5 separate regions of the Homo sapiens genome follow, and all the other regions are linked to region 1. Evidence: promoter capture Hi-C in 16 types of primary human blood cells and fetal thymus (Javierre and others, 2016). All regions are on one chromosome and are shown on one strand. The core of a region is centred on a gene start or on the middle of the fragment in contact, and the rest is flanking DNA. Distances in the headings are between cores, read along the strand shown.

Region 1 (5,956 bases), core at 3,362-5,861:
ATGCCAGTACCACACTGTCTTGATTACTGTTACTTCATTATAAGTGTTGAAATCAGGAAGTGTGTGTCCTCCACCTTTCCACTTCTTTTTCAATATTGTTTTGGCTATTCTGGGTTGTTTCTTTATATGTATAGCTTTCCTTTTGTGTACATATAAAAAACACACATTTTTTTCCTGTTATGCTGCTTAAATGTTTTATATTTTTGTTGGAATTTATTTTCCCTACTGTACTCTACTGATGATTGCTGTTTATGGGAAAGCCATTATTTTTTTCACTGATTTTTAAATAGTACCAAGGCAACTCTTTACTGCTAGCAGTTGTTTTGTTGATTCTCTGTTAGGCAGTTTTTATTATATGCAAATAATGGTCTTTTGTGTCCTTTCTTTTTTTATAGCTACTATTTCTTTTCTTGCCTTTTAGTATTGGCAAATATTGAATAATGGTGGTGATAGTGGCAGCCTTGTGTAACCCTGGTTTGAGTGGAGATGCGTCTATCTTTCCACCATTAAGTGTGATGGTGCATTGAACTGCATCTTTAAGGGATGCAGGAACAATTCAGATAAAGTGAGAGGAGGAATTATGAGGCTTTTGGGGTCATTTGGGAGGGGGCATTCCTGTCAGAAGGAGCAGCATGAGCAAAAACTTTAGGTTGAGGGACATTGTGTGGATGTGTGTAGAAAACAGTAAGTAATTAGGTATTGTTGTATCATAAGTTAAAAAGCAGGAAACAGGGAGAGAAGAGACTGAAGAGTTGGCAAGGACCAATCCTAAAGGGCCTTGATTACATTAAGAAGTTTGGATTTTATTTTTATTTTTATTTTTCGAGATGGAGTCTCACTTTGTCACCAAGGCTGGAGTGCAGTGGTGTGATCTTGGCTCACTGCAACCGCCACCTCCTGGGTTCAAGCAATTCTCCTGTCTCAGCCTCCTGAGTAGCTGGGATCACAGGCACGCACCACCATGCTTGGCTAAGTTTTGTATTTTTAGTAGAGACAAGGTTTTCCCATGTTGGCCAGGCTGGTCTCAAACTCTTGACCTCAGGTGATCTACCTGCCTCAGCCTCCCAAAGTGCTGGGATCACAGGCGTGAGCCACCGCGCCCCCCCTGGATTTTATTCTTTATATTTTGGAGAACTATGAAAAGATTTCAAGTAGGGAGGTAATATTGTCACTGAGGGACAACATCACAGATAGTTTCTTTGTTAAAAGAATTTTGATTATTTTCATGGCTGCAACATGTTCAATTCAGATAATGAATCATTTGTAGTTCCTGAAACACACCAAGCTCTCTGGTACTTCTTTGACCTTGAGGACATCCCTTTTGTCAGAAATGCCCCCATACCCACTCCAGGCCAGATAAAACACGAATATGGGTCTTTTGCATCAACTGCTGTCACACCAGGCTGAATCCTAATTATCTACTGCCACTCTTCTGAGTTCTTTGAGGGCAGGAACAATACCATTTATTTCTGAAACCTATTGGGGTGCATAACGGAATAAATGAATAAACAAATGAGCAAATGAAGTGTGTTGGCAGGGAGAGTAATGCAGAGGAGCTTAGAGAGATAAGGTCACAAAGACGGTTAATCACAGAGTTAGTTAAAAATCTGATGCCTCAGGTCTCTCTCTGCTCTTTTCCTGTGCCTTAACGTTGCTGAAGTTTACAAAGGTGCTTTATAGCTTGTGCAGTCCTGATGCACGGAAAAGCTTTATTTTATTGTTTGACCCAGCCTTCCTAGGCACCACCCCCTGAACAGAGGTAAGCTATGGAAATTTTAACCTCCCGGTGGGGCTTGCACTTCTTTTCACCCACTGTTTACTGCTGAAAGCCTGAGTAGCTATGGGCCATCTTTCCGGAGAAACTAGGAAAAAAAATGTGTGGAAGGCAGCAAGCCCACGATGTAAGAAAAAGTGTTGTAACTTAAGCCTCCAAGTTCAATGATGATCTCGGTAAAATGAGTTTGAGTTATTTTGTTTTTTGTCTCTGTCACTCTGATGCCCGGGCTGGAATGCAGTGGTGCCATCTCGGGTCACTGCAACCTCCACCTCCCAGGTTCAAGCCATTCTCCTGCCTCAGCCTCCAGAGTAGCTAGGATTACATGGGACTGCCACCATGCCTGGCTAATTTTTGTATTTTTAGTAGAGACGGCGTTTCACTATGTTGGCCAGGCTGGTCTCAAACTCCTGACCTCAGGTGATCCACCCGCCTTGGCCTCTCAAAGTGCTGGGATTACAGGCGTGAGCCACCGCACCCGGCTGAGTTTGAGATCTTTTGACCCCACTGTTTTGATTCTGTGTTTAAGCATACAAACATTTAAATCTATTCTAAATTAACACGAAAGTACATGTCTACAAAGTGTTTGCCAGAAAAAACTTCATTAAATAAATTTAATATTTTTATTGACTTTCTGCTCATAGGGGTTAATTCTTCCAATTTTTTTTTTCCATATTTAGTTTACTGATTACTGTAGGGACCAATGTTTCAGTGATGACAAGCATTTTTCATATCAAAATTGACTTTTGTGTCTACATTGTTTACTGTCTTCCATGGTCTTAATCTCTGCCAGGCTCAGTTTTCTTGGGTCAATGTTTTGCAAGATCCAAATTTTATCACTTTTCCTTCTTTGATAATTTTTTAGTTAAATACAAATACACTGTCAGTTTTAGTCATTATCAATTACTCTGTCTTGTTTTCCTACCAAATTTAATTTTCCCAAGTTAATTTGGAGTTTTCAATGTTACTGATACAATCTGATCTTCCAATAAGTCCTGTGTGCAGTTATAGCTGTTGCCAGTATTATTATGCTGGTTCTTTCTTCTACTAACCTTTCTATGAATTGGGTATAAGATAAACAGTTCGTGTTTACATCTGGAAGCAAAAAGCAAAGACCATTAGTGGACAAATGTGAATCTGGGCACTTGGCTGGTTCAAAATAACAGAATCAAAACATCATGCCTATGGCAAGCTTGTTGACTTTTTAAGGATCAGAAATCTTTGCTTTGTAAATGTGACAGTCTTATGATTCTTACATTTTCTTTTAATCTCCATTTTGTTTTATCTTAAATTTATTAAAACTTCTCTGAGAAGGTAAGTTTTCCTCAGCCCTTCTAAGGGATTTTCCAGCTAGTGGTCTCCGTCATCAAGTTCTACTCTGTTGAATTCCTTCGGGGTTGGATTTTGTTTATAACAATAATTTTACTTTTTCTGAACGCCCTTTTAAAACGTCACACTGAGATCCACCAGAAGAGTAAGAATAACATTAGGCTTGTTTTTATAATTCATCCCAGACATCCCAAGTGAGAATTAAAAAAAAAAATTACTCATTTCTATTTTCCTTTCTCAAAAACACATTACAAAAAGATTGTAAAACAAAGTCTTGAGGGATTGATTAGTCAAGACAGGGGGTGAAACTCTTAAGAATCCAGTGGAATCAGGACAACCCAAACTTCCTTTGTAGAAGAGCATTTGCTATTAAGAGTGCTTAAAATATCAGAAGACTAGAGAGAGGAAAGAACAGATCTTCACCACATGCCTGTGACTTATTCTTCCACCCTGCACTAATCTTACAATGTGGGCTGCGGTTGGTCTAAAGCTTAAATCAACAAGTACTGTAAAGGTTTTAGAACAGTGCAGACCACACAGTAAGGTGCTCAGCAGGTACTGGCTGAATACTGTAATAGTCCCTGTAGATAAAAGCCACAAACCCTGTCCCTAAGTAGCTCCTTTTGGTTGGAGTGACTGACAAGCAACAATTACTTCACAGCGCTTATTAAGGGCTGAGATAGGGGTTAGCTCAAGTGTCTGTGGAAGCAGACCAGTGGGTCTCAAACTTTTTTTGTCTCTGGACCTCTACACAATATTTGTTACCACAAATAATGTATTTATGAAAAGCATATTTTCCAAATTAATAAAAGGGTGATATCTAAAATTTCTGCAGATTTCCTCAATGTCTGGCTTAATAGAAGATGGCTGGATTCTCTTATCTGTTTCTGCATTGAATCAGCTGCTATATGCTGTTTTGGTTGAAGGGTGGGAAGAAAATTTGGCCTTAGACACATGCTCCTGGCAAAGGAATGGAGGCTCTACTGAAAGGTCTTGGCGACCCCTCAGGGAAACCTGGGACCACATTCTGAAGACTGCTTACTGGATACCAAGAATGTTTCTTGGAGGTAGCAATTTGAGTCCTGAGGTAGATCAGCCATGTAGGGTGAGGGTAACGGAGGTAGTTAATGGTAAGGCTGCTGTGCCGAGCCAGCACAGATATTTGGGCAGAGGGCTCATCTACTCCATCCTATTCTACCATTCTTGAACTCACAGTCAATTAATAAAAAGTACCTGGGGTTGGGGAGCTGCGCATCAATATTATATTAACTGTGAAGCCTTAGTGCTTACTACGGTCGAGAAAAAGCGCTCCTCTGATTCGCCCCTCCCGGCGGCGCGGAGGTGTGAGCTAGAAGCCCGCAGGCGGTGCCGCGTCCTCCGAAGACAGGGAGGGGCGCGGCAACGCCGGGAAGCGCTGCAGCCCGGGGCCCCACGGAGGCGCGGCGCTCGAGGCCCTAAAGCGCGCAGGCGCGGCAGCGACGCAGGCCGCGGCCCCCGGAACGGTAAACAGTGGGGTCACGTGACACGGCCCCTCTCCAGCTCCCGCGCCGCCGCCGCACGCCGATGGCTGCGGGGTCTCGCGCCGTCGCACCGTCCCCACGCGGCAAGCGACCTTCGGGCTCAGGGCGGCGGCGGCTGCAACGAGGATTAGGAGGGCGGCGCGGAAGCCAAGAATAGTGTCGTCAGCAGCAGCCATTTGGTCCCAGGAGGAAAAGAGGCTGTGGCAGCGACGCCGACGTCCTGCGCGTACCCCCTCTCCGCGGCACCCACCGGGCCCCCTCCTCCTCCTCTTCGGCGGCGGCAGCGTCCACCATCTTCCTCTTGCTGCCAGTGGTAGCGCTCGTCTGGCGGAGCTGGGTGAGTTGCGGCTGTGGCCGCGGCCAGGGAGACGGGCAATCCTCCCCTCCCCCATCCCCTTCCACACGCACAGCGCCTCCGCGGGCCTCTCCGCCCCTCCCGCGGCGGACTCTCCGCGCTTTTCTCCCGCGCAGCCGAGAGATCGCCTCTCGGGCCTCTTGCGCAACGTCCTCGGCCTACCTGGGCCGCGCCGCTGGCGCCTGTGGACCATTTGGACCGCGGGCTGGGGAGGGAGTCGCAGCGACGCGGTCGCCAGGCGGAGGGTCGGGACCACGGCCTCTCTCCCGACCACTGGTACCCAGCCGTCTGCTGCGAGGGCGCCCCGCCGCCGCTGAGGCGCGGGCGCGCAGGCCCGAGGCACGGCGGGCGCTGCCTGGAAGGCCCGTCTCGCAGGCCCCCGGATCCGGCCGTTGGGGCCTCTTCCTTCTCAGGGAGCCCCAGCATGGAGCTTTGGGCCTTGGTTTCGGGAAACTGGGACTGGCCCTGGCTGCTAGGCTGCTCCCTGCTGCTGCTTTTTGGAGATGAGAGTTGCTCTTCCATTTATCCTCCAGTTACCGCGCGCTTTTGTGCCCGGGACTCAAACTGTGGACTCCTTTTGCTTAGTTTGAAATGAGAAGCCTAGACTCTTGCCTTCCGATAATACATGTAATTTAATGAACCACTTGTCGATACGTACGTGTTAATGGTGCTAAATAACTGATCACCTGACACGGGGGGCGGGGGCGGTGCGGAGAGTAGAAAGGAAGAGAATGTTGATATCGCGCACGGAGTCCTGTGTCCCTCCTTTCCCTCAGGATGTGTTGCCGGGTTAGGTGACCTTTTTCCATCTTTGGGCTTTTAAATGCCAATTCCTAGAGACTAGATTGGGGTGGTTATTAGTGCTTTCCAGTAGTCACGCGTAGAATATGTTCATGGATTAATGTTAAGTGGCAACACTGCTTTAATATTCTAGTCCTAATCTGCATTACATGTAGCGATATTTAATTTAAAAAGAAT
Region 2 (5,920 bases), core at 1,927-4,426, 360 kb before region 1:
CAGGTGTGAGAAGGGACTTCTTCTAGAGGGAGGCCAGTGAAGACTCTAAAAATAGTAAAGAACCAATATGTAGATTTTTAGGCCAACAGAGTGAGGAAGAGGTGATAAATTAAACACCGATGTGTTGACTTTGAAATACCTGTGGGACATTTGAGTGGATGTACACTTTGAGAAACTAACTTGACAATCATTCGCTTATAAGTAAAAATTGAAGGTATAGGCTTTACTGTCAGCATCATTGGGTTTTTATGCCATCCCACCAGGACTTCCTTTGCCTGACCCATCCGTGTTATAATAGAGAGAAAAGCCATGTTCACACAATGTGACATGTCCCTTCCAGGCCACAGTTCACTGGATGAGGAGTCAGTGCATTGCCCACATTAAACTAATGAATTTAGAGTTTGGACTAGAATAGACTAGCTTCAAACAGGTTGCTTGTTCAACATAAAAGATGTAAATTTGGGAAGTTGTTTCAGCAGCCATTTGCCATCATGTCGAGAAAGAAACAGAGAAAGCCAGTCTAAAGCAGGAGTGAAAGGATGATGCTGGCATGAGGAGAAACACAACAGAGGTAAGAACAGATAGAAAAGATGTCCTGGGTTATCTACAGTGCTTCAGTTTCAGGTTAGATTCATTCCTAACACCTAGACACATTGAAGGTCTTAGAGTCCATGAGGCACTCTTCTATCTCAACCAAAAAAATTCCTTATTTTGTTTAATCAGGTTCAGTTTGATTTCCATTACTTTAAACCAAGAGTCTTGGCCAGGCACAGTGGCTCATGCCTGTAATCCCAGCACTTTGGGAGGCTGAGGCGGGTGGATCACTTGAGGCCAGGAGTTCAAGACCAGACTGGCCAACATGATGAAACCCTGTCTCTACTAAAAATACAAAAATTAGCCAGGCATGGTGGTGCGTGCCTGCCATCCCAGCTACTTGGTAGACTGAGGCAGGAGATTCATTTGAACCTGGGAGGCAGAGATTGCAGTGAGCCAAGATCGTGTCAGCCTGGGTGACAGAATGAGACTGTGTCTCAAAAATAAATAAATAAACAAATAAATAAATAAATGTCTTAATCCATGGAAAATAATAGTAATAATAAATAAGATGTTGTGGAGACAATTTTTAGAGGGAAGAAAGGACCAAGAATGGAAGGATCTTGAATAATATTCAACATCGAATTTCAGGCAGAAAAGAGGAATTCACAAGACATTGAAAAGCTGAGAAGTGGCCAGAGAAAGAACATCTAGAACCTCTAGTGCCTTTCAAGTCAAAAGAAAACCATTTTGACAAAGAGGTAGAGGTCAGCAATTTCAAATTCTGTTTACTCGTCATAAAACATGAATGAGAAATGTCCCCTGTATTTAACAAGTGGAAGGTTATGATTAACCTTGGTGAGAACAGTTGAAGGGGACTGGTGGAGGTAGAAACGAAAATATTTGGGGGCAGTGATGGGAAGCTATGAGGAGTAAATAGAGGAAGTAGAAAGAGCAAGGACATGTAACTTAATCAATAAATTTGATTTTAAAGACAAGGACAGAAGTGAGAAGGGTACTTCGGATTAATAGATTTTTTTCCGTGTGTATGTGTGTGTGTATGTGCGCGCGCGTGTGCATTATGCACCTTGCAACCATGTCAATGTGCTTAAATTCTGATGGGAAAGAAACACCAGGAGAGGAACATACTGGAGATACAGTAGAGATTGGGTACTCGCATGAGAAGGCCACAGGGGTGGGATCCTGCCAACAATGAGAGGCACCCCTTGCACTGAAAGTTAAGAGAAGGAAGAAAAGTGCTAAGTCTGAGATAAGACGCCTGTTCTTTGTCAGGGAATTAAGGAAGTGTGGCCACGGGACACAGCACTATTAGAGTTAGTTGTATCTGCCCTTTGCTAGCCACATTTCTTTTCCTTCTTCAAGTGCTGGGGACATGGGACCTTATAACCCTTGCCATCCAGTGAGAAAGGTAGTTGGAGCCAAAGAAGTCTGTGATCCAGCCCAAGACTTCGCATTGCTTGATCAATGGCATCCTCCTCTATGCTGTTTTGTTCTCTCCTCACCACATAAATTCTATCCTCCATCCATAGACATTTAGAAACATTTGTTCTCTCACTTAAAGTTAAAAGCTCTTTGTGGGAGAAAAACATGTATTGTCCAGTTTTGTATCTTCCCCTTCGTAACTTACATACAAATGGCTCTCAAAAGCAATTATTTCAAAAATTGAATAAAAATGCTACCTAGTGTCTAACTTAAACAACAATTCATTATCTAACAATCCTTTTTCACTTCAAACACTGAAGTATCATTTCTGTTTACCTCATAAAAAGTGAATTGATATATATGTTTTCTAGTGATCACAGAAAGAAGACACTTTGTAGCATTTATTTAATTTGTAGATATTGTAGAAGCTCTTATAATGTGATTCATTTTAATGAACCTCCAAATAAGTAACAAATTACTGGATTTTCTTTTTTTCATAGTTTATTAAAGATTTCTTCTTTAGTTCTTTTCAGACTTATTTATTTCAAATCTATTGTAGAGTCATCCAAAATTTAAGACATTTAGATTAATTTTAGGCATTACAGAATGCAGCTAATGTTTCTATGGTTTCATATTTCTACGTCTCTTGAATGTACCCTTAAATATTGGTAATATCGTATCCTGTCAACACTCCTTTCCCCCCCCCTCTGATATTGAGCCTGTATTTAATATCTATTAACCTAAAAATATTCAAATGCAAGTCATGTGATTGGGAATGCCTTTCTGCTGTTAGTATTTCTAATACATTTTTTCAATTTTCATTTATTCAAAGTAACTAGATTGAAAATCCAATTACTTTTATGTTTAATATTCAGCTTTGCTCTGAATTCTGAGCCAACACTGTTTAATGGTACGTTGCTGCCCTCTAGCTTATGTTTGAAAAGTTTTCTATAATGTAACAATTTATCCAGTAGTCTCTTGGATATGCCCAATACATTGATATTCATTTGTATTTAATGAATCCTATATTAGCAGTTTTATAAACATTAAATTTTTATAGTTATTAATTAAAGTGTTATTTTTCTTTCCAGGTAAAACTGATCTTATTAATCTTAGGAAACATCTTGAAGAGACAAGAAAACCTTTGTTATGTCATTGTGTAGCAGGTTCTCAGCCAATTTCTTTTTCCCTTAATTTACACATTTCGCCTCCATATAGGTTGGCTATTTTCAAAAATCAGTGTGTTTTCTTATCTTTTATTTCTTAAGCAGCCAGAGAGAAGTATCAACTCTTTTATGCTCTCAATGAATGCAGAGTTCTTGTCAAAGAATATTTCTAAAAATGAAACAAAATAAATTGATTGGCACTATTTCAAATTCTAAGGATGGTCAGAAATTTCAGCCAGGTGTTTTTTGTGTTCAAACAAATTAAGAAACTACTTAAGGCTTGAATTACTGTTATCTGACCAAAGTTCTGAAATAATGTTATGGCATCATACTTCTTTGTCATAAGACCTTCTGGCCTGGATAGAGTTATCAAGCATGTATCTACTACCTACTTCTGTTCATTTTAATGCCTAGAAGCCTTAAAACTAAAATGTAATATTCAGCAAAATTTTCAGTATTGTACTTAGCTGAGACTGTAGTGAAGGGCATTCTGGTGTAGCACAGAGACCATGAGACTGAAAGTAGAAACCTGGATTTGATTCCTAGTTCGTTCAACACAACAACTTTTTAGGGTCTTAAATCTCTTGTTTTTAAAAATAATAAGTCTACCTTTCTCATAAAATTGTAGACAGCATGAAATAAGGAAATGAATGAGAAAGTGCCCACACGATGTATGTTATGTACTAAGAGCTTAATAAACCTTTGTTTAATCCGTATCTAGTATAAACATTCAATTGTTCCTAGTCTTCTGATTAAGAGTAATTCTCTGCCTTTCTTTCTTCTTCTCTTTTATCAAAGTTTTCTTGCTCTTCGCGTGTCTTTTTATATACTGTTTTTCAGTCAGGCTTCTTTTTAAAAATTCTAGCTACTTTAAGAAAAAAAGAAATTTATTTAAAAAATATTAGATATTTAATAGAATCTCGGAGGGCCAGAAAATCAGGTTCAGAAGAACAGGCTTGACTGTTCCAGAGACCCGACAGCCACTGGCACTGGCAATAGCACCACCAATGCCCCCCCACAATGCCACCCCAGGATGGCACCCATGGATGCCTGTCGCTGCTGCCTCCCTCAAGCTCAGCAGAGTGGAGTCCATGTTTTATGACTGCATCTGATTGGCAGAGTCCTTGTACCATGGTGTGTCCGGAATTGGTGGGTTCTTGGTCTCACTGACTTCAAGAATGAAGCCCCGGACCCTCGCGGTGAGTGTTAACAGTTCTTAAAGGCGGCGTGTCCGGACTTGGTTCCTTCTGATGTTCGGAGTTTCTTTCTTCTGGTGGGTTCGTGGTCTCACGAGTGAAGCTGCGGACCTTCGCGGTGAGTGTTACAGCTCTTAAGGTGGCACGTCTGGAGATGTTCGTTCCTCCCAGTGGGTTCGTGGTCTCGTTGGCTTCAGAAGTGAAGCTGCAGACCTTCGCGGTGAGTGTTACAGCTCATAAAGGCAGTGTGGACCCAAAGAGTGAGGGCAGCAAGATTTATTGCAAAGAGCGAAGGAACAAACCTTCCACGGTGTGGAGGGAGACCCCAGCGGGTTGCCAGTGCTGCCTCAGGCAACCTGCTTTTATTCTCTTATCTGGCCCCACCCACATCTTAATGATTGGTAGAGCACAGTGGTCTGTTTTGACAGGGCGCTGACTGGTGCGTTTATAATCCCTGAGCTAGACACAAAGGTTCTCCACCTCCCCACCAGATTAGCTAGATACAGAGTGCCAATTGGTGCATTCACAAACCCTGAGCGAGACACAGGGTGCTGATTGGTGTGTTTACAAACCTTGAGCTAGATACAGAGTGCCAATTGGTGTATTTACAATCCCTGAGCTAGACACAAAGGTTCTCCACCTCCCTACCAGATTAGCTAGATACAGAGTGTCCACACAAAGGTTCTCCAAGTCCCCACCAGAGTAACTAGATCCAGAGTGTCGATTGGTGTATTCACAAACCCTGAGCTAGACACAGGGTGCTGATTGCTGTGTTTACAAACCTTGAGCTAGATACAAAGTGCCGATTCGTGTATTTACAATCCCTTAGCTAGATATAAAGGTTCTCCACGTCCCCACCAGACTCAGGAGCCCAGCTGGTTTCACCCAGCGGATCCCGCACCAGGGGCTGCAGGTGGAGCTGCCTGCCAGTCCTGTGCCACCAGCGGGCACTCCTCAGCCCTTGGGTGGTCCATGGGACTGGGCGCCTTGGAGCAGGGGGCGGCCCTCGTCTGGGAGGCTGGGGCCGCACAGGAGCCCACGGAGTAGGGGGAGGCTCGGGCATGGTGGGCTGCAGATCCGGAGCCCTGCCCCGAGGCAAGGCAGCTAAGGCCAGGCAAGAAATTGAGCACAGCAACTGCTGGCCCAGGTGCTAAGCCCCTCACTACCCCGGCCGATCGGTCGCTCCGAGTGCAGGGTCCTCCGAGCCCACTCCCACCCAGAACTCGCGCTGGCCCTCAAGCACCGCGCGCAGCCCGGGTTCCCGCCCGCGCCTCTCCCTCCACACCTCCCAGCAAGCTGAGGGAGCCGGCTCCGGCCTTGGCCAGCCCGGAAAGGGACTCCCACAGTGCAGCGGCGGGCTGAAGGGCTCCTCAAGTGCCGCCAAAGTGGGAGCCCAGGCAGAGGAGGCGCCGAGAGCAAGCGAGGGCTGTGAGGACTGCCAGCACGCTGTCACCTCTCAATGGCAGCAAGAGAAATTGGGAAGGTGAGGTTCTGACTTCTACTTTCTGAGACAAGAGCCCAAAGAAGAGGGATTCCACAAATCTAAGAGAGCTATTGAAAGGTTCCACATGGCTAAAAAGC
Region 3 (5,181 bases), core at 2,209-4,708, 260 kb before region 1:
TATTATACATCATTGTGTGCACATACCAAAAAATTAAGGTAAATAAATTGGTTATTTCTTTCTACAATTTTTTACATCCAAGTCTAACTTTTGGGCTCAGTCTCATGTTTTAATTTATTTCCACAAAATATCCTCTGTTACATTAACTGCACTGGTGACACAGCATTTCATAAAATAATCTATCAAAGAACCAAAGCCATTGGTGCTACTTGAGACTATGTAAAGCTGGCTGACATCCCTTTGACTCCCAATGCAAGCAGCTTGCAAACACATGTGACTCACCACCTCCCTTACCTCCTCCACAGCCATTTTGTTCCTATGGTTTAGAAGAGTGCTCAATTAAGAAATGATGAAAAGAAAAAAGATATTTAAGTGAGCACAGAGTTTCTTCCTACATGATACATGTTGATTACCAAAGGAAAAATAGTAACTACAGTGTGGAGGAACCTGGTGACGTCATGTTAACCCAGTAATCAAAGTTAACATCAGTGATAAGACAAAATGACATCATCAGGTAACTCCTAATATGCTACACTGAAAATAAATATCTGTGATTTTCCTTACCCGCTTCTCCTCCACCACAGAAAGTATAACCTGAATCTAATCATGAAGAAACATCAGAACAAACTCAAATTAAGATACGTTTACAAAATAACTGGCCTGTAATCTTAAGAAATGTTAGGTCATAAAAGAGAAGGAAAGATTGAAGAATTTTTCAGATTAAAGGAGACTAAAGAGACAAGACAATTGAATACAACATGTGACCCTGACGAGAATTATTTCTTTTGCTAAAAAAGGGCATCTGTGGGGCAGGGAGTGGTGGCTCATGCCTGTAATTCCAGCACTCTGGGAGGCCAAGGCGGGCTGATCAATTGAGGTCAGAGGTTCGAGATCAGCCTGGCCAATGTGGCGAAACCCAGTCTCTACCAAAATTACAAAACAATCAGAAGGCTGAGGCACGAGAATGGCTTGAACCCAGGAGCTGGAGGTTGCAGTGAGCCAAGATGGGGCCACTGCACTCCAGCCTGGGTAACAGACAGAGCGAGACTCTGTCTCAAAAAAGGCCAGGGTGGGGTGGCGGGGGAGTGGCATCCATGGGACAATTGACAAAATTGGAATGTCTAGATAAGAATATTTCATCAATGCTAATGGACTAATTTTGATGTCTGTACTATGGTTATGTTAGAAAATGACCTTATTTTTAGAATATACACATTGAAGTATAGTATTATTTAGGTGTAAAGGGCATTGTGTCTGCATGCCCGAAACTTACTCTCAAATTATTCAGAAAAAAAAACACCAATATATATTACTTAGATACAGATAGAATGGTAAAACAAAATGTGGCAAAATGTTATCTTTGATGCAAATTATTTGCATCATTTTTTTCTGAAAGTAGGCAATTATTTCAAAACAAAATGGTTTCAATAGAGCGCCATGATATTTTTCTGACATTTTCTTTGAAATAGTTGATACTCCTTCTGCAAATTTTGTTGACAGTGCTTCTAGGTTCCAAAAAGAAGGGTAACGCCACTACAGCACCTTTGCCATCTGACCAGCAGCAATTCTAAGATGTCATTGATTCTAAGATGCATCTCAATTCCCAAGATGTTAAAATGAACAAAATACATCACTTAGGATCATAAACACATTTTAGTTGGAATAGACACATTTGAAGACCAGATTTGAACAATGATCCTCCCATTTAGTATCAACATTAGTTTACTACTGCCACTGTAACAAATTAACACAAATGTAATGGCTTAAAACAAGACAAAAGTGTTGTCTTATGGTTTTGGAAGTCAGTTCAAAATGGATCCACAGGGAGGCTGGAAAGTAAAATGGTTTTTCTTGTCTTCCCCAGCTTCTAGAGGCTGCTTGCATCCTTGGCATGAGGCCCCTTTCCGTTATTGTCTTCCACAGTATCCCTGATAACAAAACCTACACCTAGCTCAGGTATTACATGTGCTACTCCTGAACATCTCCATCTCTTGCTTAAGGAAATATTGCTGTGCAAGTACAGTCTTGTAATAAAAGGAAATTGTGACTGGAAAAGAGAAAAAAAAAAGTTGCTGATAATAAACATGTTAGGAAAACCTGATCTTGGGAAGACAGTTTGACATTTTGACACAAATGTTTCCTAATTATCATGGGAACTCTGTTTAGGCTATAAGACTCTATTGTTATTGATGTCATTGTTGATTTTCCGGGGCAATAAGAAAACATGTTATCAAGAATTAATTCCGTTTTTGTTTTTTAATCATTTTCTTTTTTAACCATTGACTGAGAGATACAAATTCTAGAAATTAAGGAATTCCAGAATTTTAAAATTGGGTTAAATATATCCAGAGCTGATAAAAAGCAGTATAGAGTGGCCAAAAGAATACATTATTGGTGGTCCTCATAATCAATTTGACTTTCTGTAATTGTATTAAATTAATTCTTACACATACATATATGTATATATTAGAAGAGTGCTTGACAACAATTGTATAAGTGTTAGCTATTATTACTATATATTTATATTTATATTATTATATAGCAATTATGATCTTTCTTGGCAAATATTACTACTAGTTTGCACTGAAATTGCAAGAAAAGCTGGATCATAAATGGAAACATTTTTTATTCAGATTCCCTAGGTTGATATATGAAGCAAAATATGAAAACACTTATTTATGTGGATATGTATATATTCGTCTGTACTCACCATCTACTTTATTAGTTGTTGGAGAGATTAGAGAGTAATGCATTTAAGGCAGTTTGCCTTTGGCTGGTACATTATTTTTAATAATAGGTTTTATTATTTCTCAACTTTAAGAAACTTTTTAAAGGGTCAAGATAATGCTGAGTTTGGAAATGAGATAAGAAAAACAAGAGAGAAAGATAGCATGTTAGGAAGTGAGTAGAAAATTACTTCCTTTAAGTGAGATAATTCCCTAATCAAAAATATTGCCTATGATATTGATAATAATTGCTAATGTTTTTTGAGCATATACTATGTTGTAGGTATCATGATAATCACTTTCTACATATTATCTTGTTTGGTCCTTAGAACCAAATGAAGTGAATGTTGTATTATCTTTATTTTGCCTAGGGATTAAGTAATTTTCTTAATGTCACAAATTAAATATAATAGTACTGAATGATATCAAACCCAAGCAGTCCAAACCCGTTCTAACACACTGCTATGCTCTCTCCACGATATATGATTCTTTACTCCACAGACCTTACTTCATACCAGATTATTTTGCCCATGTTCCCCCGATGCTTGCTAATTGCGCTTACATTTTCTGTGTTTTGTCTCTCTAACCATTCCTACACTCTTCAAAGGCAGAGAAAAAGCTTTCTATTTCTTTTTTACTTAACCCAAAAGCTTATTAAGGGCAGAACACAGAACGTTTCTGAAGAAACACCCTGGGCTCACAGCAGAGAGCAATGCAGATAATAAACACCAGGAGTACTATCTAAAACCTAAGAAACATCAAAATTATACCCTTTCCTCACTTTTCTTAATCAATACTTTCTATTTATTCAGAGCCAAGCTTACAAAGGGTAAAGATTGCCTTGATGAAGAGCAAGCCCTCTGTCTACTGATGCTGACATCTAGAAAAATCACTATGCTCAGATTCAATATTCTGCACTATAGCTCCCTAATAGACTCAAACAAATGGCAATGGATACACTCAGCCTTTTCTGAGCTTCTAGAAAACATTCACCTATTGCATTTCTCTTTAACTTCTTTTTTAATTATCTGACTGCCTCTTACCTGAGCCCAGTAGAATTTTAAATATGAGAAAGGAATCATCAGAGAATAGGCTTAAAATGAAAAAAGGAAATAGGAAATTGTATTTTATTTGACTTTTTAAAACTCATCTACTTTCAGATTGAGTCAGTTTGCTAGCTAAAACAAGATTTTGGGGTGAATAACTTTTACTAGAACATACAAAGTGCATTTTAACAATGGTCTACATTCACAAGTGGCCACTATTCTTGTCCAAACACAATTCAGCTGAGTGTTCCTAGGCTTCCAAACCCAGAACAAAGCAGAACAAAAGAAAAATATAGTATTTGAAGTGCCTTGCTTGTGCTTTTCTAATCTAAACAGACTGCTCCCATATTAAGAAAATTACTTTAGGTGCAAATGATACCTCAAAAAGAAGTAGATAGATATGCACTGATTCTTTTTGACATTATAATTTATAGCTTAAATTAATTTTAGACTAATTTTCCTCTTACTTAGAGCAAAATATTGCTAAGGGAACAGCCTGTCTTCATCTGACTTATAGTAAACATTTGCCACTTAGTATTCTGAAACCAGCTGGCTTTTTTAATCTTTGGCAATAGACGCTAACGTATCCTTTATGAATTATGGCAAGCCAATAGGCAGAGAGCAACCCAGAAGGTGTAAGAGGTCTAACAATCAACCAGGCAATAGAATGGGGGTTGGTAACCATCAACTGCATGCCCTGAAGGCAAATTTTCCACAGCTTTCCAGATGCTGCCATGCTGCCTCCCTCACTCCACCTTTTGCCCCAGCTCTCCAAACTCAGCCCTGGGGAGTTGGTTCATTCAATCCTTCAAAGAAGTGCAAGGATAAAGAAGCAGGAAACTAATTACCTCATGGTGTGATAAGTGCAGGATAATTCTATAGAAAGAACACCTAACGTAAACCTAGAAGATCAAAATAAGCTTCCCAGAGAAAGTGATGTTCTGACCAAGAAGAGAAGAAAAGAGTTAGACACTTGGGCCAGGCACGGTGGCTCACACCTGTAATCCCAGCACTTTGGGAAGCCGAGGCAGGAGGATCACTTAAGGTCAGGAGTTTGAGACCAGCCTGGCCAACATGATGAAACCCCATCTCTACCAAAAATACAAAAAATTATCAGGGCGTGGTGGTGTGCGCCTCTAGTCCCAGCTACTCAGGAGGCTGAGGCAGGAGAATCGCTTGAACCCGGGAGGTGGAGGTCGCAGTGAGCCGAGATCGTGCCATTGCACTCCAGCCTGGGCGACAGAGAGAGACTCCATCTCAAAAAAAAAAAAAAAAAAAAAAGAAAAGAAAAAGGATGAATAACAAGAAAGAAAAACAGCCTTATTGCTGATATGGAGAAAGGTTTTAGTGGTCTAGGTAGAAGATTAAACCAGATTTTTGAAAAAAAAAAAAAAAAAGAAAAAGAGACA
Region 4 (5,661 bases), core at 1,738-4,237, 310 kb before region 1:
CTTACCCAAATTTTCTCCTGGGAGTTTTATTGTTATTGAATATGCAATTTGATTCATTTCATCTTCTTTTCCTTACCTTATTTTGACAATCTCTTCTTCTCAATGTGTATCCATGATTTTTTTATAATATCCTTTCCTGAACCTTGATTTGCCCATTTTTGTAAAAAGTGTTCTAAAGCTTGGTTGGACATATGGTGTATAACCTAATTTATGGTATTAGCATGATACATATTTTAAAAGTATTACCATTATTTAGAATCAGTTTTTCCAAAGGAAAAACCAAATGTCAGTAAAGGGCTTAACAAATAGATTAGAAAAATAATAAATGGTCAATAAGTCCATATTAAACACTTTCATTCACAAGCATTTGTTCAATCTGTACTATATCCAGAAAGCTATCTTAGTCAAAATGAATATAGTCATTGAGCCATGAATGTAAATGATACAAGTCTTTCTCTTACCACTCTTCTGAGACAACATATGGAAAGACCGTTCAACTCAAGTACTTCTCCTGCCAAAAAGTTGTAATCTAATTGAATGGATCCAGAGAAGAGTAACTAAAATGATTAAAGGAATTATGGGATTCATTTCATGAGAACAGATTGCAGAAGCTAAAGCTTACTAAGTACCAACAAGGGGAAACAATATGTTGTTTACCACTAAGTTACTGCCTTCTGATGAATTATTGAACAGGATTGGAAGAGCAAAGGATGCAAATTAGGTAAAGGATTAAATCTATTCTTTCACTGTGGGAGAAAATGAAATCACAATGAATCTGTTTTTGTTTCATGTTTACATATATTATATGTTACAGTACAGTGTATAAAATACAAAGTTCTTGTCTTCCCAGCACTAACTGATAAGGAAATAGGGTGAAAACATGCCCAATGAGACCAAGGGAATAACTGACTTGTGAGAATAATAGCCAAGTTCAGTGAAGGAAATAATCTTTCTTATGACCTTCATGAATCACAAAAATATGGTTTCAGGTCAGCATAAGAACATAACAACCACGACAGAAGGATACTTCCACCCTACCTTTCTCCCGATTTGTTGTTGTTCTAGAAGCTGCATGGGTTTGTTCCTCCTTTATATGCATCTAATTATGACATACCTAACAGGAAGACTACATTGACACCCTTTATTGAAGATAACATCATACAAAAATTATAAGGAGTAATATTTGAGCTTCCCTAGTGGTTCTAGAACTCCTGTTCACAAAGGCCCCCAAAAGTTCCTTTCATGAATCCAGTCCCCATTTCTTTTCAGTTCTTCCCAGAAATACCTCATTTTCTAAGAAAATGGTAGATCTGTTTACAGAATTAAGATTTAAAACCGATGATTAAAAAATATTGGAGTGAGGACAGGTAGAAAATCAGTGAATTCAGGGCTGAGCGGAAACACACATTGGCAGGGAAACTGAAGAATATTTTTGTGTGTCCTTTTCATTTGTTTCAGAAAGGGAATTTCTCCTCTCATCTGCCCCTTCGATAAACCTAAGTAAGCAATGAGTAGAAAACAGCGTAACTCCCTGAAAAAAATTATTTTGTAAAGTTGATACAATTTAAAACTAGTTTAAAATCATTTTAATTTAGCATTTTCAATGATTTTCACATATCCTTAAGCATTTATATATTTAGCACAAGCTTCATAAAGTTAAATGAAGTCAGTTGTGAAAGTGGAAGCATGAAATTCTGAATTCCAAGGCACATAAGGAGCTTGCAATCACATATAATAAGTTAAAAATTATTCCAAAACAGCCCAAGCTATTTTTAGAAGGAGAGTGCCACAGAATACATTTCTTTTTATTTGTAAGATTTATGGAGTCCAGGTGCAGTTTTGTTACATGAATATAGTGCATAGTGGTGAAGTCTTGGCTTTTAGTGTAGCCATCACCGGAATAGTATACATTGTACCTGTTAAGTAATTTCTCATCACTCATCCCACTCCACCCTTTTGAGTCTCTACTGTCTATTCACAGAAGACATTTTTATAACACCATTAATTTTAAAAAATTGGTAGCTGGTGTTGTCCTTGTTTCCTTCTTTTAATGGCATCATTCTACTTATTGTGATAATATCTACAAATTCTTGAGAGCACCAAAACCTCATATACACACACACACACACACACACACACACACACACACACACACACACAGGTTATGTTAATCAATATTAGCATATTTAAAAATATAATAATAATGGGCATTGTACATATTAACATAAATAGCATTTTTTATAGAAAATTGATTTCTTATTTTCACAAATTGCTCTAATGTCTAGCTTAAGAGAAAAACCACTGGAATCTCGTATGTTTTTGCATTCTTTTTTTTTTTTTTTTTGAAACACAGTCTGCTCTGTCACCCAGACTGGAGTGCAGTGGTGCGATCTGGGCTCACTGCAACCTCCGCCTCCCGGGTTCAAGCAATTCTCCTGCCTCAGCCTCCCAGATAGCTGGGATTACAGGCACCCGCCACCACACCTGGATAACTTTTAGTATTTTTAGTAGAGACAGGGTTTCGCCATGTTGGCCAGGCTGGTCTGGAACTCCTGACCTCAGGTGATCCACCTGCCTCAGCCTCCCAAAGTGCTGGATGACAGGCGTGAGCCACCGCTTCCGGCTTGCATTTATTCTTTTGATACAGCCCATGTCATGCAACCTCTGGAAAACTTCACTATACACTAATGCTAGATGAGAATGAAAAGGCAAATAGAGTCTTACCATTACTGTGAAAATAATTTTGACCTCACAGTCTCCTCAAAGGTTCTTGGAATCCCTAGGGGTCCCTGAACCATACTTTCAGAACTGCTGCTGTAGTGAAACAACCAGCAGATTAAAGACTTGAGTTCTATAGGAAACACTGTTTTTTAAAGACATATCACATAGTTTTCTTGATAACAGTTTCCTTTTGTGCAAAATGTGGTTTAGGGCAAGATGATCTCAGGTTTCTCTTAACTCTGTTCTGTGATTGTGTAAGATATTAAATGAATTTTATAAAACAACTGAGAATACACATTGTCTTCATGAGCACATGGAATATTCTCCAGGACAGACTATATGTTAGGACACAAAACAAGTCTAAACAAACTTTTAAAAATTAAAATTATATCAAGTGTTTTATCAGACTCCAATTAAATAAAACTAAAAATCAACATCAAGAGGAACTTTGGAAACTCTACAAATACATGCAAATTAAACAACATGCTCCTGAATGGTCACTGGGTCAATGAAGAAATTGAGAAGAAAATAAAAAAAAATTTTTTGGAAACAAATGAAAATAGAAAAACTACATACCAAAATGTGTGGGGTACAGCAAAAGCTCTGCTAAGAGGGAAGTTGATAGCAATAAACACCTACATAAAAAAAAAAAACAGGAGGCTGCACATGGTGGCTCATGCCTGTAATCCCAGCACTCTGGGAGGCCGAGGCGGTCACATCACAAATTCAGGAGATCAAGACTATCCTGGCCAACATGGTGAAACCCCGTCCCTACTAAAAACACAAAAATTAGCTGGGCGTGGTTGAGCGCCTATAGTTCCAGCTACTCAGGGGACTCAGGCAGGAGGATCTCTTGAACCTGGGAGGCAGAGGTTGCAGTGAGCTGAGATCACACCACTGCACTCCAGCCTAGAAGACTGAGTGAAACTCTGTCTCAAAAAAAAAAAAAAAAAAAAGGAGAAAATTTTCAAATATATAATCTAATGATGCACCTTAAGGAACTTGATTAAAAAACACAAAACAAACAAACAAAAAGAACAAACCAAACCCAAAACTAGTGCAAGGAAAGAAATAATAAATATCAGAGCAGAACTCAATGAGATAGAAACTAATAAAATAATACAAAGGTTCAACCAAACACATTGGTTCTTTGAAAAGATAAACAACATTAATAAATCCCTAGCTAGACTAACCAGGAAGAGAGAAGATCCAAATAAGCAAAATTAGAAATGGAAAAGGAGACATAACTGATATCACAGAAATACAAAAGATCATCAGAGACTGTTATAAACAATTATACACTAACAAACTGGAAAATCTAGAGGAAAAGGAGAAATTCCTAGAAACATAGAACCTACCAAGATTGAATAAGGAATAAATAGAAAACCTGAACAAACCAATAATGAGTAGCAAGGTAGAATCAGTAATAATGTGTCCGGAATTGGTGGGTTCTGGGTCTCACTGACTTCAAAAATGAAGCCGCAGACCCTCACGGTGAGTGTTACAGCTTTTAAGGTGGCGCATCTGGAGTTTGTTCCTTCTGATGTTCAGATGTGTTCGGAGTTTCTTCCTTCTGGTGGGTTCGTGGTCTCGCTGGCTTCAGGAGTGAAGCTTCAGACCTTTGCGGTGAGTTTTACAGCTCATAAAAGCAGTGTGGACCCAAAGAGTGAGCAGTAGCAAGATTTATTGCAAAGAGCGAAAGAACAAAGCTTCCACAGTGTGGAAGGGGACCCGAGTGGGTTGCCACTGCTGGCTTGGGCAGCCTGCTTTTATTCTCTTATCTGGCCCCACCCACATCCCGCTGATTGGTAGAGCCGAGTGGTCTGTTTTGACAGGGCACTGATTGGTGGGTTTACAATCCCTACAATCCCTGAGCTCGACACAAAGGTTCTCCACGTCCCCACCAGATTAGCTAGATACAGAGTGTCCACACAAAGGTTCTCCAAGGCCCCACCAGAGTAGCTAGATACAGAGTGTCGATTGGTGCGTTCACAAACCCTGAGCTAGACACAAGGTGCTGATTGGTGTGTTACAAACCTTGAGCTAGATACAGTGCCGACTGGTATATTTACAATCCCTGAGCTAGATACAAGGTGCTGATTGGTGTGTTTACAAACCTTGAGCTAGATACAGAGTGCCGATTGGTATATTTACAATCCCTGAGCTAGACATAAAGGTTCTCCACATCCCCACCAGACTCAGAAGCCCAGCTGGCTTCACCCAGTGGATTCTGCACCAGGGCTGCAGATGGAGCTGCCTGCCAGTCCCGTGCCATGCACCTGCACTCCTCAGCCCTTGGGTGGTCGATGGGACTGGGCACTGTGGAGCAGGGGGTGGCGCTTGTTGAGGAGGCTTGGGCCGCACAGGAGCCCACGGAGGAGGTGGGAGGCTCAGGCATGGCGGGCTGCAGGTCCTGAGCCCTCAGGCCCCACAGGAAGGCAGCTAAGGCCCAGCAAGAAATCGAGCACAGCGCTGGTGTGCTGGCACTGCTAGGGGACCCAGTACACCCTCTGCAGCTGCTGGCCTGGGTGCTAAGCCCCTCATTGCCCAGGGCCAGCAGCGCCTGCCGGCTGCTTTGAGTGCAGGGCCTGCCAAGCCCACGCCCACCCAGAACTCCAGCTGGCCCGCAAGTGCCGTGCGCAGCCCCAGTTCCAACTCACGCCTCTCCCTCCACACCTCCCTGCAAGCTGAGGGAGCGGGCTCTGGCCTTGGCCAGCCCAGAAAGGGGCTCCCATAGTGCAGCGGTGGGCCAAAGGGCTCCTCAAGTGCCACCAAAGTGGGAGCCCAGGCAGAGGAGGCGCCGAGAGCGAGCGAGGGCTGTGAGGACTGCCAGCACGCTGTCACCTCTCAATCCCCCCTCTAAACAGGACACCCTAACTGCTGTTGGCAATTTGGCTGATGACCACTCTAGCTACTTCCTGCTGGATAGGGGTGAAGAAG
Region 5 (5,565 bases), core at 1,341-3,840, 330 kb before region 1:
TTTGTTTCTTTTTCTAATGCATGAGGTAGGGAAAAATCTTCGGCTTAGTTGATCAAGATGTGAGAGCCAAAACCAATTTTCAATATAAAAATGGAATCCTTAATTTCTGATGAACTGAGTGCTCCACTTTTGTCTATCCCATACCTCTACATGTATAATTATTAGGTCCCACAAGCTGCAAGTACTTACAAAAATGGCAAAATCTTATAAAGATAATTTAAAATTATAGTGGAATGCTCCAAATAAACAACACCAACACCACACTTTAAGAACTGCATTTAAAAATGAAGGCTCCCAAATTAGGCATATCCAGGGACACCTATTGATGTGCAGAACATTCTTAAAAATGTTAATATTTCTATTGCCTCTTTTAAAAGCCTTTCAAAAGGCAAACAAAAAGCTTAAGCAACTAATTGATAAGAAAAATTGAATCTGCTAATCTTTTGGCTTAGTTACTATCCTGCCCCAAAGATAAAAAGAGAATTATATAAAGTGTTCATGAAAGGTAGGCCCTCAAGTAAAGTAGGCTTTTTTCTTTTTCAGAGCTATCCATACCGAGTCCACACATAGAGAATTATTTCCTCGCCTTATTAATTAATGGGCTCCAACCTGAACTCAGTAATTTTAGCTAAAAAATAGTGGCTAACTTAAAAAGACTGCCTATTGAACTAAATTGGTCTCCAAATTCACCTTTCTGGCATTTAGCTGGCTATTTTGAAACATATCTGTAAAGGAAATTTACATCTATAAAGGAAACCTCCATTTTTAAGGGTGTCTGCCTCTGTGCAGCAGGAAGAGAGGAAAGACTAAGTTACTAGAGACTCTTATCATTGACTTACATTTATGTAACAAGTCTCCTCTAAAGTACCTTTTCCTATCCATCCTGTCTTAACTGGGCATTTATCCACATCCTCCCTCCTTGATTTGAGCAAAAGATGGTACAATATTTAGGTCTAAAGTCTCAGCTGTATGCATTTGAGAGATAAAATTTCTACCTTGTTTTACCTAAAAGTCATCCTTTTAGAAGTGAAATTTTAGGGTTTTCTAGCTAACAATTGCTTAGAACAATGAAACAGGTAATTGGAATATTGATAGTCTGAATTGGGGGAAAGAAAAACTATTTGGAAACTAGTAAATGAAAAATTTTTCTGAAAATTTTAACTTCTGCCCTTGTCCGTGTCTGTCTATATGTCTGTAAGTGTTATGTGTATCAGATATTTCTTTCTGATCTTATATAATATTTGTCAAATGAAGCAAGTTTTTACATTGTTGGCAAAATAAAATAGGAATGTCTTCAGAATTGTCAATACTAAATATAATTCAGACTTTTTTTTCTGGGTCTACTGGTCAGAAAGGTTTATGCTGTTTTTGCTATATGTTTTAGGGTCATAAAATTGCTGCTTCTGTCAAATTTTGATACGTGCTTGATTGTCTGTAAGCTGACACTGAAAAGGCTGGCTACTGGGTTCCCCTGAAGCCTTTCACACATCTTACTGTGAGCTTATATCTTTGATTTTGAGCCTTTGAATTCTGAGGCCTGGAGAGGTGGTCATGGTGAGGCCTGGAGACGTGTATGTCCACTGTACCTGGGCCACTAGCAGCAGGACACAGCCAAGCCCACTATGGCCCTGCCCTTCCTCCTCCAGCTTTGCCTGCTGGCCATGCTGAGAGGGGTTGGATCCTCCAGACATCCTTTTCATAGCTCTGTCCTCAGTCCTTGACTCTACACCTGGTGTGTAAATTAGGGACCCAGATGGGCCCTGGCCTTCCTAGCCATCCTAGGTGCCACTCAGGACATTAGGGAGAATACCTACGTTATTTTTTCAAAATTATTTTCAGAAACTTAAAATCTTAAAGCTGCGTTAAATTCAGAAATAGGGAAAGGAGCAATGGCTCATTCCTATAATCCAAGCACTTTGGGAGACTGAGGTGGGAGCATCACTTGACCCCAGGAATTTGAGACCAGCCTAGGCAACATGGTGAGATGCAACTCTACAAAATATATAAAAATTAGCTAGGCACGGTGGTGTGTGCCTGTAGTCCCAGCTACTCGGGAGGCTGAGGTGGGAGAATGACTTGAGCATGGGAGGCAAAAATTGCAGTGAGCCAAGATCATGCCACTGTACTCCAATCTGGGTGACAAAGCAAGATCTATCTCAAAAAATAAAAATAAAAAATAAGAATAAATTCAGAAATAAATACTCATTAAATATCTGAGTCATTTCTAAGAAGTTAAAATATTGAAGTATTAATTATTAACATAAATTTATGCCTTAGCATCTTATTTGTATATGATATTGAAAATGTAAATATATTTAGATCTATTAAAAATAATTGAGGAAACATCTTTCTAAACAATTATGAAATGGTTTTTATCTGCAGATACTGATATAAAACACTTCAAAATCATTAACTTCCTAGGTTTTACACTGGAAGTTAGAATTACTAAGAGTTAAAATTTAAGTTAATATATGTAATTATAACTACTAAAGTAAATAATTTAGCTGGCCACGATGTCTCATGCCTGTAATCCTAGCACTTTGGGAGGCCAAGCTGGGAGGATCACTTGAGGTCAGGAGTTGGAGACCAGCCTGGCCAACACAGTGAAACCCCATCTCTACTAAAAATGCAAAAATTAGCCAGGCATTGTGGCACACATCTGTAACCACAGTTAGTAGGGAGACTGAGGCAGGAGAATGGCTTGAACCTGGGAGGTGGAGGTTGCAGTGAGCCAAGATTGCGCCACTGCACTTCAGCCTGGGTGACAGAATGAGACTCTGTCTTAAAAAAAATAAATACAATAAAATAAATAATTCTATATGTAAAGTGTACAAGAAAAGCAAGATTGTTTTTGATGAGAAAATTAAAATGTGTATTTGTTGAGAAAAAATAATTTTGTCTAGTTTAGAGGTTATTTAAAGGTTCTTTCAAAATGAAAAAATTATATAAATAAAATTAAATGGATATTCAAGGTTGGGGGAAAATAGAAAAAAATGCAAGAGGCTATAAAAAGGATTATGGAAATCTTGTGTGTTCAAAAGCTGATTGAAGGTGAATGTATTTGTTTATAAGGTTTTCTTAAAATTAGCAGTAGTATTGATTATATACTAACACAAAAGTAAAATTCATAATTCTCTGCAGAGTTCACAGGGGAAAAAAGTAAAATTCTGTTTTCTCCTTTGAATAAGAATTTATTGTAGTATTAATAAGAGTGAAAGATGTTCGTCCACCTTTTGAGTAAAATGCAAAGAAAAATAGAGGAGAGACAGATTTTGTTTTGTGCTGTCTTTATTATGTCTTTTGATTATTTGGAAAACTGAATCTCCTCTTCATCAACGAATAAGGATTTTTGCTTTTGAAAACCTTTTAATTATCAGTTAGGCTAAATTAATTACTATTATTTTGCCGTAATCTGTGATTCTATTTTGATAGTGTTTAAAACCTTTGGCATATTTGATAGGCTTCCTAAAATCAAATTTCAAATTCTAAAATTAACTCTTTTTTCCTTCAAACTAACTTTAGGATGTTCCAAAAGGTCCCTGAAGCATCCAAAAAAGAGACAATAAATAGGCTTATTTGATATGTTAAATAAAATGGAAAGCATCATAAAATAAATGGTACTTAACATTCTCTGAGTTATATTTTATGAATATATTATGAATATGTATTTCAAAATTATATGTGACTCCTAATATTCTGATATGTCTTAGTATATGTTATCAGCAATAATTATGTTTATTTATGTTAAATTATTATAGGATACAGAAAGAGCCAAATTTCCTTGTCAATTGCATCTTTAACCATAACCATTTTAAGTCTTATTCACAGTTTATTAATTCTGATGAACTTTCTTAAAGCTCATTACAATCAAGTAAAATCCTAAAATGTTGTGTCCTCAAGGAGGTTCATGGAAAGGTTTGAAAGAATGCTCATAAACACTCTTGAACACAGGTTTCTGATAACTCTAGAATGATATACATTTGGACGGGATAGGAATACTAAAAGCTCTAATGAAGAAGTTGACCAGTTTATAAAATTGCCAACTTAAGTAGCACAAGAACTAATTGAATACCAAGGAAATACTTTAGCAGATTTCCATGCTAGATCAGCCAGTACTGATGTTGTTAAAATATGCAATTTGAATGAGGTTCATGGTTCAAGTCAAATTGCCTACAATAACCCATTTGATAAGCAGTGCTATGCACCTAAATTGAAGAAACGAAATTTGTATTTAAGATAATATGAATTCATTGTCGAGTGTGGACTCATGGAGAGTCTGGAGAGCTGCCTGGTCCTTCTCAAGTAATTAAAACTGCCATCATTGAAAGCTCTACACTCAGCCAGGCATGGTGGCTTTCGCCTGTAATCTCAGCACTTTGGGATGCCGAGGTAGGTGGATCACTCGAGGTCAGGAGTTCGAGTCCAGCCTGGCCAATATAGTGAGACCCCCATCTCTACTAAAAATGCAAAAATTATTCAGGCATGGTGGTGAACACCTGTAATCCCAGCTACTCGGGAAGCTGAGGCAGGAGAATCGCTTGAACCCAGGAGGCAGAGGTTGAAGTGAGCCGAGATTGCATCCAAATTATATTTTTAAAAATATACTGGTGTCATGACTATTCTAAGTTGCCAAAGTGGTTTATTTTGCTTTGTCAAATCCATAATCCTAGGAAGACAAAAAAAACTTCAGGTACATTTTTGCTACTTGATGGGCCATTTGAACATTTACAGATGGCTTCTATTCAATTGTCATTTGTAATGCATGTTTTCTAGTTATATACAAGCTTTCTCATGCAAGAAGGCTAATGCAATAACAATAGCTAAAATAGCTTAACGGTTATCAAGAAATGTGTTTCTCTCATGGAACATTCCTAGAGAAATCTCCAACAATAAAGGTACTTGTTTCACTGGACAAGTTGTAAAACATAAGGTGTTACAGCTATAATAGCATTAGGCAAGTCTAACTGAATGGACTGAATTGTCTTGGTCAAAGGTACTGCAGACTGATAACAATCAGTTCCTCTTCCAATCAAAACATGAGTTGACCATTTATGAAATAGTCACTGTAAGGCCTCTAATAATAGAACCTTATGTATCTTCTGCACCTAAATTCTTATATGACTAAATGCTACAATGCAGGCTTCAATGCATTGTGCCAAAGTGTATTTTCATTAGGTAAAAGGAGCTTTTTATGATCCACTGACTGGGTACAGTCAAACCCTTCATGGTCTAAAACTTAGAGACTGGGCCTTCTGGAAACACCATCAGAGAAAGACTTCCCTTGCCACTCACACTGCAGTAAAATACTGGGACCTTGAACCTTGAGTCTGGCCCATCCAGCCTCTTGAAACCAAACACTTGTTAGAGACCTTAAGGTAAAGCTAACCAGAGAACTTTCTCCCTTGAAGCAGATGGCATCCTAGACATAGAAAGCTTTCCCAAGATCATGGAACAAGACTTCTCTTCCATCGTGAGATTCTTAACCTTTCTTAACTTTTGCCTTGCTTATGCCTCTTGGAACAACACAGTGGGAAAAGGGGCCTATGTGTGTGAAGTATATTTTTA

What was found. Contacts are between HindIII fragments. The CHiCAGO score rates a contact against its expected background, and 5 or more counts as called.
Region 2: a contact is called between a fragment that was not itself captured here and the fragment with the promoter of PHF3 in region 1, in 1 of 17 cell types (neutrophils). The highest score is 5.2, in neutrophils.
Region 3: a contact is called between a fragment that was not itself captured here and the fragment with the promoter of PHF3 in region 1, in 2 of 17 cell types (monocytes and M0 macrophages). The highest score is 6.5, in monocytes.
Region 4: a contact is called between a fragment that was not itself captured here and the fragment with the promoter of PHF3 in region 1, in 1 of 17 cell types (neutrophils). The highest score is 6.5, in neutrophils.
Region 5: a fragment that was not itself captured here is called in contact with the fragment with the promoter of PHF3 in region 1 in 1 of 17 cell types (monocytes); the score reaches 5.4 in monocytes.

The regions. Positions count from the first base shown.
Region 1 is chr6:63,631,191-63,637,146 of GRCh38, forward strand. It overlaps PHF3 (PHD finger protein 3), which reads left to right and starts at 4,612. Exons shown (of 16, transcript NM_001370348.2): 1 at 4,612-4,960. RefSeq lists enhancers at 3,300-3,837, 4,369-5,189 and silencers at 4,407-4,766, 5,207-5,386. The HindIII fragment of the contact is 3,030 bases long and covers 3,592-5,956 here.
Region 2 is chr6:63,269,696-63,275,615 of GRCh38, forward strand. No RefSeq gene overlaps it. Among named protein-coding and RNA genes, the nearest start is that of LGSN, 47 kb to the right of the region's middle. RefSeq lists a silencer at 6-55. The HindIII fragment of the contact is 7,263 bases long and covers 1-5,920 here.
Region 3 is chr6:63,372,883-63,378,063 of GRCh38, forward strand. It overlaps a transcript of LGSN not described here. Among named protein-coding and RNA genes, the nearest start is that of LGSN, 55 kb to the left of the region's middle. The HindIII fragment of the contact is 169 bases long and covers 3,375-3,543 here.
Region 4 is chr6:63,321,447-63,327,107 of GRCh38, forward strand. It overlaps a transcript of LGSN not described here. Among named protein-coding and RNA genes, the nearest start is that of LGSN, 4.3 kb to the left of the region's middle. The HindIII fragment of the contact is 2,686 bases long and covers 1,645-4,330 here.
Region 5 is chr6:63,298,507-63,304,071 of GRCh38, forward strand. The region is part of intron 1 of LGSN (lengsin, lens protein with glutamine synthetase domain); the gene reads right to left. Among named protein-coding and RNA genes, the nearest start is that of LGSN, 19 kb to the right of the region's middle. The HindIII fragment of the contact is 4,384 bases long and covers 399-4,782 here.